Regions from separate parts of the Homo sapiens genome. Here all the other regions are linked to region 2. Evidence: promoter capture Hi-C in human tissues and cell types (Jung and others, 2019). All regions are on one chromosome and are shown on one strand. The core of a region is centred on a gene start or on the middle of the fragment in contact, and the rest is flanking DNA. Distances in the headings are between cores, read along the strand shown. Region 1 holds the start of SIRPA (signal regulatory protein alpha). Region 2 holds the start of SNRPB (small nuclear ribonucleoprotein polypeptides B and B1). Region 3 overlaps PDYN-AS1 (PDYN antisense RNA 1).

Evidence for each region. The method cuts DNA at HindIII sites, captures the fragments that hold promoters and counts their contacts. A contact is called where the count stands out against the background at its distance.
Region 1: the fragment with the promoter of SIRPA here is called in contact with the fragment with the promoter of SNRPB in region 2 in 3 of the 25 tissues and cell types used here (aorta, dorsolateral prefrontal cortex and lymphoblastoid cells).
Region 3: a contact is called between a fragment that was not itself captured here and the fragment with the promoter of SNRPB in region 2, in 3 of the 25 tissues and cell types used here (hippocampus, lymphoblastoid cells and mesendoderm cells).

What each region holds. Positions count from the first base shown.
Region 1 is chr20:1,894,105-1,898,509 of GRCh38, reverse strand. It overlaps SIRPA (signal regulatory protein alpha), which reads right to left and starts at 3,103. Exons shown (of 8, transcript NM_001040023.2): 1 at 2,984-3,103. The coding sequence starts at 3,062. LOC102724545 (a long non-coding RNA gene) reads left to right here and starts at 4,260. Exons shown (of 4, transcript NR_186374.1): 1 at 4,260-4,391. RefSeq lists an enhancer at 1,943-2,458 and silencers at 3,750-3,869, 3,880-4,139. The HindIII fragment of the contact is 18,060 bases long and covers 1-4,405 here.
Region 2 is chr20:2,468,579-2,473,403 of GRCh38, reverse strand. SNRPB (small nuclear ribonucleoprotein polypeptides B and B1) reads left to right here and starts at 2,615. Exons shown (of 7, transcript NM_003091.4): 1 at 2,615-2,716. The coding sequence starts at 2,714. RefSeq lists enhancers at 2,606-2,655, 2,666-2,715, 2,876-2,995. The HindIII fragment of the contact is 7,557 bases long and covers 1-4,611 here.
Region 3 is chr20:1,956,732-1,961,191 of GRCh38, reverse strand. The region is part of intron 2 of PDYN-AS1 (PDYN antisense RNA 1); the gene reads right to left. Among named protein-coding and RNA genes, the nearest start is that of PDYN-AS1, 12 kb to the right of the region's middle. The HindIII fragment of the contact is 7,949 bases long and covers 1-4,460 here.

The DNA.
Region 1 (4,405 bases), core at 1,854-4,353, 580 kb after region 2:
ACGACGCAGGAGCAGCATCCGGCCTGGAACGCCATTAACTATCTAATGAATGTTGGTTTTCCTCCCTTCTCTCAACACATGGTTCACACCAGCACTGCATAGGTGCTGCATGACTGCAAGTACAGACGTGAATTACCGTGAGTTTCCGAGGGGTTGGTAAAGGCCAGAAAGTACTCAGAGAAAACTATGGCTTTAAAGGAACTTCCAACAGCCTGATGTGTTGAGCCAAAGCACTCCCGCCCCGTTTTCTCTTCTTACGAAAGAGGAAGTGAGATTAACTTTACCATTTAGGAAAGTACAGAGGAGCCCCCAGAGTGCCACCCTCTACCAAACGGTGAGAGGTTCACTGGGGGGCCCCGCTGCTCCCCAGAGCCTGAACTGCAACTTGGCTTGGCCTCCTCCAGGCCAGAGAGAAGAAATGAATGGGAGTTTATCTGAGGTCGGCCTGGGGGGTGACTCAGAGGTCTCAAGGCCTACCTGGGGCCAAGCAGGCATCCTGCGGGTTCAGCGTCAGGCCCTGCTGACACAAAATCAGGTGCCAGGTGTCCCCAGGCCTCAGTCCCTTGCCCTTCTCCCAGCCTCAGAATCTCCCTCAGTGCAGTTGTTTTAGGAAACAGGCCTCACATTGGGTCCAAAAACATAGGTTGGTGACTTCACTGGGATCTTTTTAGAATTTCCCTTTGGCAGCATTTGTGCTAAAAGCAATCTTTAGAAACTTCTTCTCTTGCCTCCCCCACCCAGGATAATTCACATGATTGGCCCCACCCCCCCAAAACAGTGATCATGTGAAGACACAGGAATCATGTGACACCTCCCAGGCTGACAGTTCTGCCTGAGACACTAGTAGTCATTCAATCCAAAGCCGCCTTCCTAAACCTGACATTTTAGTTTCTCACTCGAACAAATCCATTTTCTTAGAAAATTGGACAACTGCCTCCTTGTACCTTCCTACCCTCATATCCTGTCTCTCTACTTCTTTGTTGTAAATTCCATGTCTGGAGCAATAGGGGGAGGGGCCTGAGGCCCCATCCTTCAGCCAAACCAGGTGACTTCCCTGCCCAGGCCCATGGTGTGACCAGGACCCCGAAGAACAGATACTGAAGGATAATGGGAGACTTGAGCTATGATGGTCGCACCTCATCCCTTCCCCACCACCCTCGACCAAGAAATTCATTCTTACCTCCTAAGATTTATTTATTTCAAAGCTAATCTTGGCCCCTCTGCTGCTCCCACTTTTTCAGGCTATTGATGCTGAATGGATTGGAACGGAAGTTTTATGGCCCAATCTTTACCATCTTATAGACTGTTTTTATAGGCAAAAGGGGGAGATGTGCTCACAAGAAAGGTGTTGGTGTTCCCAGCCGGTGCCCCAGGAAAGGCAGGCTGCCCATCGGAGCACTTGCTAATCAGCGTCACTGCTCGTTTGCCAGGGACTGAACCACAGCCTCCTGGTCGGAGAAGGGTCTGGAATAGACATTTAGAAATTAACTCGGGCCCAATTCCCTGCTTCAGGAAAATTAAGCACTTGTGAGTGACACTTGTGCATTTCCAGGCCAGGAAGGATGGCAGGGCAGGAACTCGGACTTTTGCAGGGTACAAATGGCCAGCTCAGGCAGGAAGGAGCAGATAGGAGATGCCACTCACTGGAGAGACGTGAACTGTATCAGTGCTCCCTTCAGCCCAGCAAGGACGCAACTATAACTGAAAAGAACTGGGGGTGGAGGGTGGGGTGGGGTGGGGGGATGCCTATGTGAATTCCTGGGTTTCAGGGGAAACTGCAGGGCAGAGAGAAGCAGCTGTCTACCCCCCATACTTCTCCTTCCACCCACTCTTTGCTAGTTCTCCCTTTCTCCCTGCTATCAGATGGTTACCATCTCTAGTCAAACGCAAAAGGGGGTGTTGGACACTGAGCTCATCTTTACCTCCCTCCTCAAGGGTGGGAGGTACAGAGAGACCCCACTGCCTACAACACAGTTTCAAGACGACAAAAAACAAGATCCCCATTTTTCTCTCCCTCCCAACTCCCTTAATGCCATTTCTCTGCTCCCCCCGCCCCCCACCCGGTGCCCTCCCAGGAGACCCATGGTTTTGCAAAACCCATTTAAGAAGCAAGACTCCTGAATGGTGACCTCACCCTTTGGTGAACATGCACAGTAGCCTTCAGAGCCCGCCTGCCGGCGACAGCCAGGTGTTTGATGTAGGCCAACAGAAAGACATGGTCAGAGCCACAGGTAACATCCCCGCGGAGCACCTGAACTGCAGGGAGCTGCCTGGAAGCTCGGGGAAGGCAGGAGGAAGGGGGAGCTGGGAGCGCCTCAAGGAGCAAGACCACCAGGGAGAGGCTTTGGCAACCACAGGGACAATCCACCGTGTTTTTACATAAGGATCTGTTGCTCGCAGCAGCTCGCTCTGGGGTTACCGCGGCCTCCCGGCTCCCTCTCTCCCAGGCACACACTAACACCGGTTTACTCTGCGCACCAGAGGGAGGGCTCACTCTTCCCTAATTGCAACAGCTTGTCTCTGTTCCATTCCAGGCAGCATCGGGAGGACCTCTGCCCTCACCTCCTCCCCTCACACCCTGAAGTCAAACATGTGGAAAGTCGTATGTCCATGGGGACAGATTCTGGGGAAGCCGGACGGCCCTGCTCTGAAAGCCACTGTCAGTCAGCCTTCCCCATTGGACCGGGCAGGGGCTGAGTGAAGCAACTCGGCTCTTTTGTCTCAGTGCCCAGCACAGTGCACAGAGTCAGAGTCCACAGAGACAAACTCTCATAGAAGAGACTTGGGTTCTACCCTTGGCTGTGTGACCTTGGGCATGTCGCTGGCCCTCTCTGGGCCTCAGTTTCTGCATCTATAACCCTGGTTACAGGCGTCTCTCCCCCTATTACTGCTCGGCATTAGCCGAAGGGGTCCCAGTGCCAGTCTGAGAGGCCTGAGCCCGCAGTTTGGGGAGTGCAGCGGTGGGGAGCGGGGGGGTGCTTACCTGACCAGGCGCAGGACGCGGCGAGCAGCAGGCAGAGCAGCGGCCCGAGGCGGCCGGGGGCCGGGCCGGCGGGCTCCATGGGCCGCGGCTGCGGAGCGAGGAGGGAGAGCGGCCGTGAGTGCGCGCTCGGGCGGGAGCAGGCTGGAGCGGGGAAATGACTAAGGCTCCCCCCCTTCCCCCCTCCCGGCTGGGCCTCCCCCCGACTCCGGAACGGGCGCCTGGAGCGGCCGCCGCCGCCGCCGCGGTTTTTGGAGACCCCCCCTCCCCGCCCCCCAGGAGAAATGGAGAGACGGAGACTGGGAGAGACCCCAAGCGCGCGAGAAATAAAGCCAGGGGCGGCCAGAGAGAGGCGGCAGGAGAGAGAAACAGACCCAAGGGAGCCAGGCAGAGAGCCAGAGACACGGAGAGGCGAGAGGGGGAGAAAGAGGGGGAGAGCGAGGAGCGAGGAGCGAGGCGGCGCGCAGACCGACAGACCGCGCGGGAGAGAGGACCGCGCGAGCAGGGGCGAGGGGCAGCACGGCCGAGCCCGGCCGCGCGGAGCCGCCCCCGCCGCTGCCCACCTGCCCCGCCCGGGCTCCACACGGCGCGGGCGGCTGGGCTCGCTCCCGGCCCGCAGTCCCGGCCGCTGCCCCCGCCCTCCCGGCAGCCCGACCCCCTCCCTCCTTCCCTTTCCCCTCCTCCCGTCTTCCCGCCGCCCGGGGAGGCTTCGGGGCTCCGGCCCCGCCGGCACCTTCTCTGCGAGCGAGCGCCCGCCTGCGCGCCCCGGGGGAGGGAGCGAGGGCTGCGAGCTGCGCGCCCGGCCGGGGAGGGCAGCGTCCTCCCCCGCGCCGGCGCCCGGGCCCCGGCTGCTGTCCCGGGAAGGCGGCCCCGCGAGCCGCCGCGGCCCGCTGGGGCTCGGGACTAGACGAGCCTCCGGCTCCGACAGCGTGCCCGTTCAGAAGCCCGCGCGGCTGGTCCCCAGCCCCGACCGGTCCCGCTCTGCCCCTCCCCGTCCCTGCCGGGCCCGGACCTGCGCCGCCCGCGAGGGCTGGAAGGCACTGGAAGCGCCGCCGGGGCTGCCCAGAGGCCGGGTCCCCGCTCCACTTTGCGCAAACTTGTTTTTCTAAGGTCAGCGCTGCGAGCTGGCTACATCGTCCTCTTAAGGTGGACCGGGGAAGTTGCGGCCGACCTCCCCTCGCCTCCGGACTCCGGCCGCGCGGCTGCTCCCCGCTTCCCACTGGCGAGAGGCTGGAGGCGGCGAAGGAGTCGGGGCGCGGGGGCGCGGGGGGCGGGGGGGCGTCTGCCTTTTAACCCTCCCCAGGAGGTCGTGCCTCTGAGCCCCAAAGCTGAAGGCCCCTCTTGGGGGTGGGTGCGGGCCGGAGGGGCCCGATCCTTTCAGAGCCGGGCCGAGGTGAAGGAAAAGAAGGAAGTAAGTGAACGCAG
Region 2 (4,825 bases), core at 1,366-3,865:
TATATACTATTTTCTCTTATACATACATAGCTATGATAAAGTTTAATTTATAAATTAGGTACAGTAAGAGATTAACAATACTAATAGAACAGTTATAAAAATATACTGTAATAAAAGTTATATGAATGTGGTCTCAAAATATCTTGTACTGTACTCACCTATTTTTATACTGCAGTTGATTGTGGGTAACTGAAACCACAGAAAGTGAAAGATGGATATGGGGGGACTACTGTACATCCATACAATGGAATGTTATTTGGCCATAAAAAGGAATGGAGTATTGATACGTGTCATGACATGGATGAGCCTTAAAAACATTGTGCTAAGTGAAAGAAGGTAGTCACAAAAGACCACGTATTATTATATGATTCCCTTTATATACATTTTCTAGAATGTCCTTCATAATATTCATCCTTCTGATAGACCTGAGTGTAGGTTCAGGTCTCTGCTCACATACCACTCCTCAGAGAAGTTTCCCCTGACCACCTAGCCAAAACTGTACCCTATCCCTCTCAGTTCCTCTGCCTTTATTTATTTTTTTCATATCACTCTAATGTTACATTGCATACTTATTTATTTGGTTTACTATGTCTTTCTCAGTAGGATGTAAAGCTCCGTGAGGGAAAGGACTCTATCCCAATAATGGTGCATGGCCTTAGTAGATGCTAAATAAAAATGATTTTAAATGCATGCATGAATGAAGTGTTAGGCAGCTGGGTAAGGTGGGGGCAAATGAACAGCTGAGGAGCCAGACGGACCTATATTCCCACTCTGACTCCGCCACTTTGGGCAACATAATTCATTTCTATGAGGCTTCGCCTCTTCATCTACAGGTGACAGGAAACGGGACAACAGAACACACCCTTTAGAGATGGTGTGAAGATGGCAAAGCACCAAGGTGGAAGCTCTCCTTGCTGGGTTTGAGGAACAGCAAGGAGATTAGTGTGACTGGAGAAGGATGAATGAGGGCAATGTTGACGGAGATGAATGAGGTTGGAGAGGAGCGCAGAGCTAGATTTTATTCCATGTGTGCTGGGAAGTTTTTGGTAAGTGGAGACCAGGACATGACATCATCTGATATCCCAGTACGTTTAGAAGGATCCCTCTGGCTGCCGTGAGAACAAGAAAGGAAGCAAAGAGACAAGTTACGGGCTCGTTCAATGATCCAAGACAGAGACGATGGTGGCTATGACTAGAGTGGACGCAATGGAGTGGGTGACAACAATCATATTCAAGATAATTTGAAGGTGGGGGCCACAGGATTTGCTGATGAATTTGATTATTCGATGGCAGAGAAAGAGAAGAATGAAATATGCTTCAAATTTGTCATTTTCTTTTTTTTCTTTTTTAATCCAAGAAACTTCGGGGATGGGGAACACTGGTGAAGTGGTTTTAGAAACAGTGAATAGAATCAAGAATTCAGTTTTCAACATGTTAAATTTGGTATACCTATTAGACATTCACATCACGCTGGCAGCTGGATATAAAGGGCCAAGAGTTAAATGAAGAGACCAAGGTTAGAGGAACAAACTTGAAAGCCTTGGGTGTATATGCTGTATTTAAAAGTCATAGGAAGGGCCCAGTGTGATGGTTCACGCCTGTAATTCCAGCACTTTGGGAGGCCAAAGTGGGTGGATCAGGAGTTCGAGACCAGGAGTTGAGGTCAGGAGTTCGAGACCAGCCTGGCCAACATGGCAAAACCCCGTCTCTACTAAAAATACAAAAATTAGCCGAGTGTGGTGGCACAGGCCTGTATTCCCAGCTACTCGGGAGGCTGAGGCAGGAGAATCGCTTGAACCGGGGAGGCAGAGGTTGCAGTGAGCCGAGATTGTGCCACTGCACTCCAGCCTTGGTGACAGACTGAGACTCTGTCTCAAAAGAAAAAAAAAAGTCATAGAAAAAAAATAAATGTCATACGACTGGATGCGATTATCAGCAAATATGGGTAGAGCCCTTATTTTGTGCTAAAGTGTTCTAGGCACTACAGCAATGAGTAATACACAAAGAGAAAAATTCACACCCTTATGGATCTTACATTCTAATGGGGAGGGGATAATAAAATAACTAACAAAAATATACAGCGTGTTAGATAGCAAGAGGGAAATACAGGAGAGATGAGGATGAGGTGGGTGGGAAGGTTACAGGATGGCTAGGGAAATCCTCACTGGGAAAATGTTATTTAAGCTTAAACCTTGAAAGAGGTGAGGGCAGCAGCCTTCTGGTATACCTTGGGGACTACCATTCCAGGCAGAGGCGAAAGCAAATGCAGAGGGGCTGAAAAAGGAGCACGTCCAGCCAGTGGAGGGAAAAGCAAGAATAGTGACTGTAGAGGAGAGAGCCGGGGAGGGTGATGGGAAATGAGGACCGAGAGGTTAATGGGAAAGGCGGGGTGAAGAGAAATGAGTGTGACACAGAGCAGCTCTCAGTACGGATTTAAGCTAGGAAGGTGTCCAAACAGGAACTTAAGGCTCTCCTTACGTCAAAGCCGGATGTTAACGCCCAGTCCCCAGGCCCCGCCTCTGCTCGGCAGAAGCTCCGCTCCGGGGCCGGAACTCCAGGGCTAGTGAGCTGGACCGGAAGTAGGTTTCTACCCGACCGCATTTTACGTGGTGCTGCATTTCCGGTAGCGGCGGCGGGAAATCGGCTGTGGGAGAGAGGCTAGGCCTCTGAGGAGGCGAATCCGGCGGGTATCAGAGCCATCAGAACCGCCACCATGGTAAGGAGGGCACAGGCTGGCGGCGCGGGAGCTTCCGAGTCTGTTGTGGAGTGGGAACCGCGACTGATCGGGGAGGAAGCCGTGGGTTGGAGCCACTTAGGGCGGTGAAGGCCTGGGCCGAGGCCGCTCGGTCTGGGCGGGAAAGACCAGGACCTTGGCGGTTCGGCTAGGCATGGGGTCGAGGAAAAGGTTGGAACCGGTGTCGGAGGCCGAGGTCGCTCGGCAGGGGCGAGGGTAGAACCGCGGCTCTCGACACCGCTGTAGCCATAATTCCTGGGACCCAGTAGGCACTAAGTTAACTTTTGCCGAATAAATATATGTCCCGGGCTTCGGAGCAGGCACTGGAGCCGCAGGGGGACCCGGTAAAAGGCTCAGACTTGCGGAAGTTTGTGAGTCTGAGAAAGAGTTGGCGGAAGTGGGTGGAAGGGGCTCGTGGACCACGCTAGAGTCTCGCTAGGTCTGCTGGATGGAGAGGAGGGCGGAGGAGGGTGATGGCGAATGGAGGAAGAGCTCCACTCAGTTGCTCATCACGTTTCCGTGTTTGCCTGTGCCTGACTTCTCAGGCGCTGGGGCTACTCTCTGAAATATGTTTGCTTCCTTCACAGAGGTAGCTGGGGACACATAATATAATTCAGTGTGGTCATTCGGTAAAAGTAACGGCAGCGGGGCGGGGTAAGAATGTTTTCTCAAATAGATGGTTCCTGAGCAGATTCCTAAAAGATTAGCAAGAATGTTCCCGGCGAAAATGGGGGGAATATTACAGACCCGGAGAACTGAAGGAACAAAGGCTGAAGGGTAACAAGATTTAAAAAGTTACTGGATTTTTCTGCGTTTGTTGACTGAGAAAAAGTTGCTGGAGGAGAAAGGAAGAAAGAAGGGAAGACGGGAAGAATTGGCAGGAGGCTAGTTACTAAAGGCCTTGCATGTTAATTTTACCTCAGTGGTGGTGAGGCATGTCATTGAAGGATTTAATTTAATTTATTTTTATTTTTTTGAGACGGAGTTTTGCTTTTGTTGCCCAGGCTGGAGTGCGGTGGATCGATCAGGGTTCACTGCAAACTCCACCTCCCGGGTTCAAGCGATTCTCCTGCCTCAGCCTCCCAAGTAGCTGGGATTGTAGGTACCCGCCACCACACTTGGCTAATTTTTTGTATTTTTAGTAGAGACGGGGTTTCACCATGTTGGCCAGACTGGTCTCGAACTCCTGACCTCAGTTAATCCACCCACCTTGGCCTCCCAAAGTGCTGGGATTACAGCCGTGAGCCACCACACCCTGCCCACTGAAGGATTTTAACCAGCAAAATGACATAAGCTTAGTGGTGTTTAGAAAGATTGCTCTAGCTCTGGCATGTATATTCGATGGGACTGGAAGCAGGGAAACCTGGTAGGATATTGTTTGGATAACTGGTTAGAATAGGCGCTGGATTCATTTTGTCTAGGTTCCAACACAGCTTCCCAGCTGTGAAACTGGGCAAGTTACTTAACCTCTCCTAGCCTCAGTGACCTCATCTGTAAAATAGGGATAATAATGGGCCCAATTTTGGGGATTAAATGAGATGTACTGTGCTTATCACAGTGCCAGATACACAGTGAGCACCCAGTAAACATTAGTTGAGCTGGACCAGTGAATGTTGCCCTAAAGGTTCAGATCCCTTGTGGTTAGAAGCTGGTTAAAATGGTCATTGAATGGAAACTGAACCACCTAACCTGAGGGAGGCTCGCAGTATCTTTGTGTGGAGTCAAGTTTTGTTTTTGTTTTTTTGAGATGGAGTCTTTCCCTGTCACCCAGGCTGGAGTGCAGTGGCATGATCTCAGTTCACTGCAGCCTCCACCTCCCAGGTTCAAGCGATTCTCCCATCTCAGTCTCCCGAGTAGCTGGGATTACAGGCACCTGCCACCACGTGTGGCTAATTTTTGTAATTTTAGTAGAGACGGGGCTTCGCCATGTTAGCCAGGCTGGTCTTGAACTCCTGACCTAAGGTGTTCTGCCCACCTCGGCCTCCCAAAATGCCGGGATTGCAGGAGTGAGCCACTGAGCCCGGCCATGGAGTCAAGGTTTTGATCTGCATATTTGCAGGTTCAGAACTTTGTTGTCTGAGCTCACAGAGA
Region 3 (4,460 bases), core at 1,266-3,765, 510 kb after region 2:
GCACAGCTGCCAGGGCTGCCCACCCCCACCTCTGTCTAGGAGATGACCTCGGCAAGTTCCAATCCGATAATTTCTGCCTCTTTAATTTGGGTGTTTAGACCATTTACATTTAAGGTGATAATTGATATGGTTGGGTTTAAATCCACCATGTTGCTATTTATTTTCTGTTTCCCCCATTTGTTATTTGTTTCTTTTTTGTTCTGCTTCTTTTTTAGATTAATATTTTTTATGATTCCATTTTATCTCTTTTGTTGGCTTATTAGCTATAATTCTTTGTTGAATTATTTTAGCAGTTGTTTTGGAGTTTATAATACACATCTCTAACCTATCACAGTCTGCTTTCAGATGATATTATACCACTTCACATACAGAATCAGAACCTTACAACATTATACTCCCATTTCTCCCCTGTTGGCCTTTGTATTGTTTTTGTTATACATAGTATTGCTTCATATATTATAAACTCCACAGTACACTGTTGTTATTTTTGCTTTAAATAGTCAAATTTGTTTTTAAAGTGATTTTTAAAGTAAGAGAAAAGAGGGGTTTTATTTGCCCATAGTTGTCATTTCCAGTGCTCTTCATTCCTTTGTGTAGAGTCAGACTCCCATCTGGTATCTTTTTTTTTTTTTTTTTTTGCCTAAAGGACTTATCAACACTTTTTTTCTATACAGGTATGCTGGTGATGAATTCTTCCTGCCTTTGGATATCTGAAAACATCTTTAGTTTGATTTTTTTTTTTTTTTTTTTTTTGAGACAGGTTCTCATTCTGTCACTCAGGCTGGAATGCAGTGGCATGATCTTGGCTCACTACAGCCTTGATCTCCCCAGGCTCAGGTGATTCTCCCATCTCAGCCCCTGAGTAGTTGGGACTACAGGCATGTGTCACCATGCCCGGCTAATTTGTGTGTGTGTGTGTTTTTTGTAGAGATGGGGTTTTGCCACGTTGCCCAGGCTTTCATTTTTAAAAAGACATGTTTGCTGGATGTAGAATTCTAGGTTGACTTTATTTTTCTCTGAGCATTTTAAGGATGCTACTCTACTGTCTTCTTACTTGCATTGTTTCTTTTGAGAAATCTGATGCCGGCCTTATATTTGTTCATGTGTATATATAACCTGGGTTTTTTATTTTCTGGCTGCCTTTAAGGTTTTTAGTTTATGTCTAGTTTTGAGTAATTTGATTATAATGGCCCTTGGTGTCATTTGCTTAATGTTGTGAGAGTCTCAAGTATAATCTCGTAAGGCAAAGTGGTATAATATCAGTCGGAAGTAGAAGGTAGAGACTGTGATGAATTAATGTGCTTGGGGTTCACTGGGTTTCTTCAGTCTGTGAATTTTGTTTACATCAAATTTGGCAAATTTTCAACCATTATTTCTCCTTCAAGCTCTCTCATATATATATATATATATATTTGATCTATATATACACACACATATATACACATATGTATATATTTATCTGCTTATAAATATGTCTATCTGCTTATACACATACCTATGTGTGAGGGTGTGTGTGTTGTGTGTTGTGTGTATATGTATATTATACTGGAAGTTGTCCCACATTTTGCTGATACTCTGTTCATTTTTTTTTTTCAGTCTTTTTTTTCTCTATGGTTCATTCTGGATAGTTTCTCTTGCTATATATTTAATTTCACTAATCTTTTTTATACGAGCCTTTTTGCTGTCTTCCATATCACAATTTAGTAACTCAGTCCTTCCTCTAGTTTCCTGAACCTATGAAATACAGCTATAATCATGGTTTTAATGTCTTTATTTATCAGTTCTATCATTTGTGTCATTTCCGGGTCAGTTTCCAATGATCAAATTTTCTCCTCATTAATGGATTGAATTTCCTTGCTTCTTTGCATGCCTGGCAATTTTTTTAATGGATACCAGACACTGAATTTACATCATCATGTGCTAGGTTTTTTTGTGTGTGTTTCTATAAATATGTTTGATTTTTTTTTTTCTGGGACACAGTCAAGTTCCTTGGAATTAGTTTAATCTTTGCTTTTAAACATTTTTAGATGGAACCATATCCATGTTTAGAGCAAATTTTGTCCAGCTACTAAGGAAGAAACCTTGTGAATCCTCTGCCTAAAGCCCTGTGAGATTTTTCACTCTGGCTCCTAAGAACAGAGACTATTCCCAGCCCTGTGGGGGAACCTGGGGTTGTTCCCTCTAATCTAATCAGGTGGTTCTTTGCTCCTCAGGTAGGTTTCATACATGCACATGCTCATTAGTACTCAGAAGACAGGAGGGGCTCTCTGCTGATCGCCAGAGGTCACCTGTGCTCTTGAACCTGCTCCTCCCCACAAGCTCTCTTCTCAGTGATACTCTGCCCTGTGAACTCCAGACACCTTGGCCTCTGGATTAATGCGTTTGCATTGCTACAACAAAAATACCCAAGTCTGGGTAATTTATAAAGAACAGAAATTTATTTCTCATGGTTCTAGAGGCTGGGAAGTTCAAGATCAAGATGCCAGTGTTGGATGTCTAGTGAGAGCTGTTCTCTGCTTCCAAGATGACGCCTTCAATGCTGTGTCCTCCAGAGGGGAGAAATGCCATGTCCTTATATGGCAGAGGGCAGAAGGGCAAAAGGATAGACTACCTTCATGAAGCCCTTTTATAACAACATTAATCCATTCATGAGGGCAGAGTCCTCATGACTAAACACCTTCCAAAAGGCCCCATCTCCCAACACTATTGCATTAGGGGTTAGGTTTCAACATAAATTTAATTTTTTTTTTTTTTTGGAGATAGGGTTTTGCTCTGTTAACCAGGCTGGAGTGCAGCGGTATAACCATGCCTCATTGCAGCCTTAGTCTCCTAGACTCAAGTGTTCCTCCCACCTCAGCCTCCTGAGTAGCTGGGACTACAGGTGTGCATCACCATGCCTGGCTATTTAAAAAAATTTTATTTTGTAGAGATGGGGTCTCACTATGTTGTACAGGCTTATTTTGAACGCCTGGCCTCAAGCAATCCTCCTGCCTTGGCCTCCCAAAGTGTTGGGATTAAGGGCGTGAGCCACTGTATCCAGCCTCAACATAATTTTTTACAGGGGACAAAAACATTCTAACCATAGCAGCCACCCAGCTCCATCTCTTCAACTCAGGAAGACCCCCGGGCCCTACCTGGACTCCCTGTCCTGTGCCGTGGCCTGAAAACTCTCTCCAGATAGTAAGCAGAGGCAATTGCTAGGCTCTCTTTTGTTTTCTCTCTCTCAGGGATCACGGTTCTGTGTTGCCTGATGTCCAATGTCTTGAAAACTGTTGATTCATATGTTTTCCCCAGATTTTTTTGTTTCAGCTAAGAGGATAAACCCATTCTCTGTTATTCCACCTTGACCAGAAGGAGAAGTCAGTGAATGAACCCAGATCTCTTCTAGAGGAACAAATATATTTCCAGGGGTTTAAGTTGGGCAACCAGGATCTATTGGTCTAAGCCATCCTAATTCCTCTACTAAATTTTTTTTTCAAAAATACTGGATGCACCAAACAAGACCTTCTATATGCCATATTTGGCCCTTGGGCTGCAATTGTGAGAATCCTGGAAACAGGAAACTTTACTTGTTTCCAGGTATTTTTTACCTGTCATTTTAACTAGTTTAAGCCTAAAAATAGTCTTTGCATATTACTGTCCAAAGCTAGGAGTTGAAAGAAACAGGATTTGAACCCAGGTCCTCTCTGACTTCAAAGATACCATCATTTCCTTCATTAGATTCCTACCCCATTGTTTTCATTTGCACTGTTATATTTCACATTATTTTGTGTGTATTCTCCCACCCCACCACCCTGCACTTTGAGACTTCCTTGTCTTTGCATCCTCTAAGTTTAGCAGAGGGCCTGACCTGTAAGAGATGTTGAGAGAATTTTTGTGGAACAAATAACTTCTCTCCTTCTGTTTGCTCTCTTAATGTTTCATCCTCCTCTAGTCCACACCCATCTATTAAATGGGAGGTATGTTACCAGCAGCACAGGTGGGATTTAAATCAAGCAGCTGCTACCTGTGAGATGATGCCTCTGCTACTACAAGAGACCTGCCAAGACACAGAGTTCATTCATTGAGGAGAAAAGGGCTGGTTAACATTCTGTAAACACAAGCTTTGAGGGATTTTAAAAAATATTTAAAGTCCTGAGATATTGAAGCTGGGACATCCAACTTCAGTAGTCATCAAAGAAATTCAAATTAACAAACAAAGTATTGGCATAATTTTAAAAAACCAATAACATGGGATATTAATAAGAATATAAGGAAAAGATGACCTCATATACTGCTGGTAGCATTATAAATCAGTATAATTTTTCTGGAAGGCCATTTAGCAAAACATATCAAAAGTTTTAAATATGCTCATGTAATTTTTCTCAGCAATTTCACATTTAGCACATTATATCCTAAGGAAATAAGCAGACAGGTGCACTGTGATTTATCCATGAGAATGCTCATTGCAGCACTGTTTA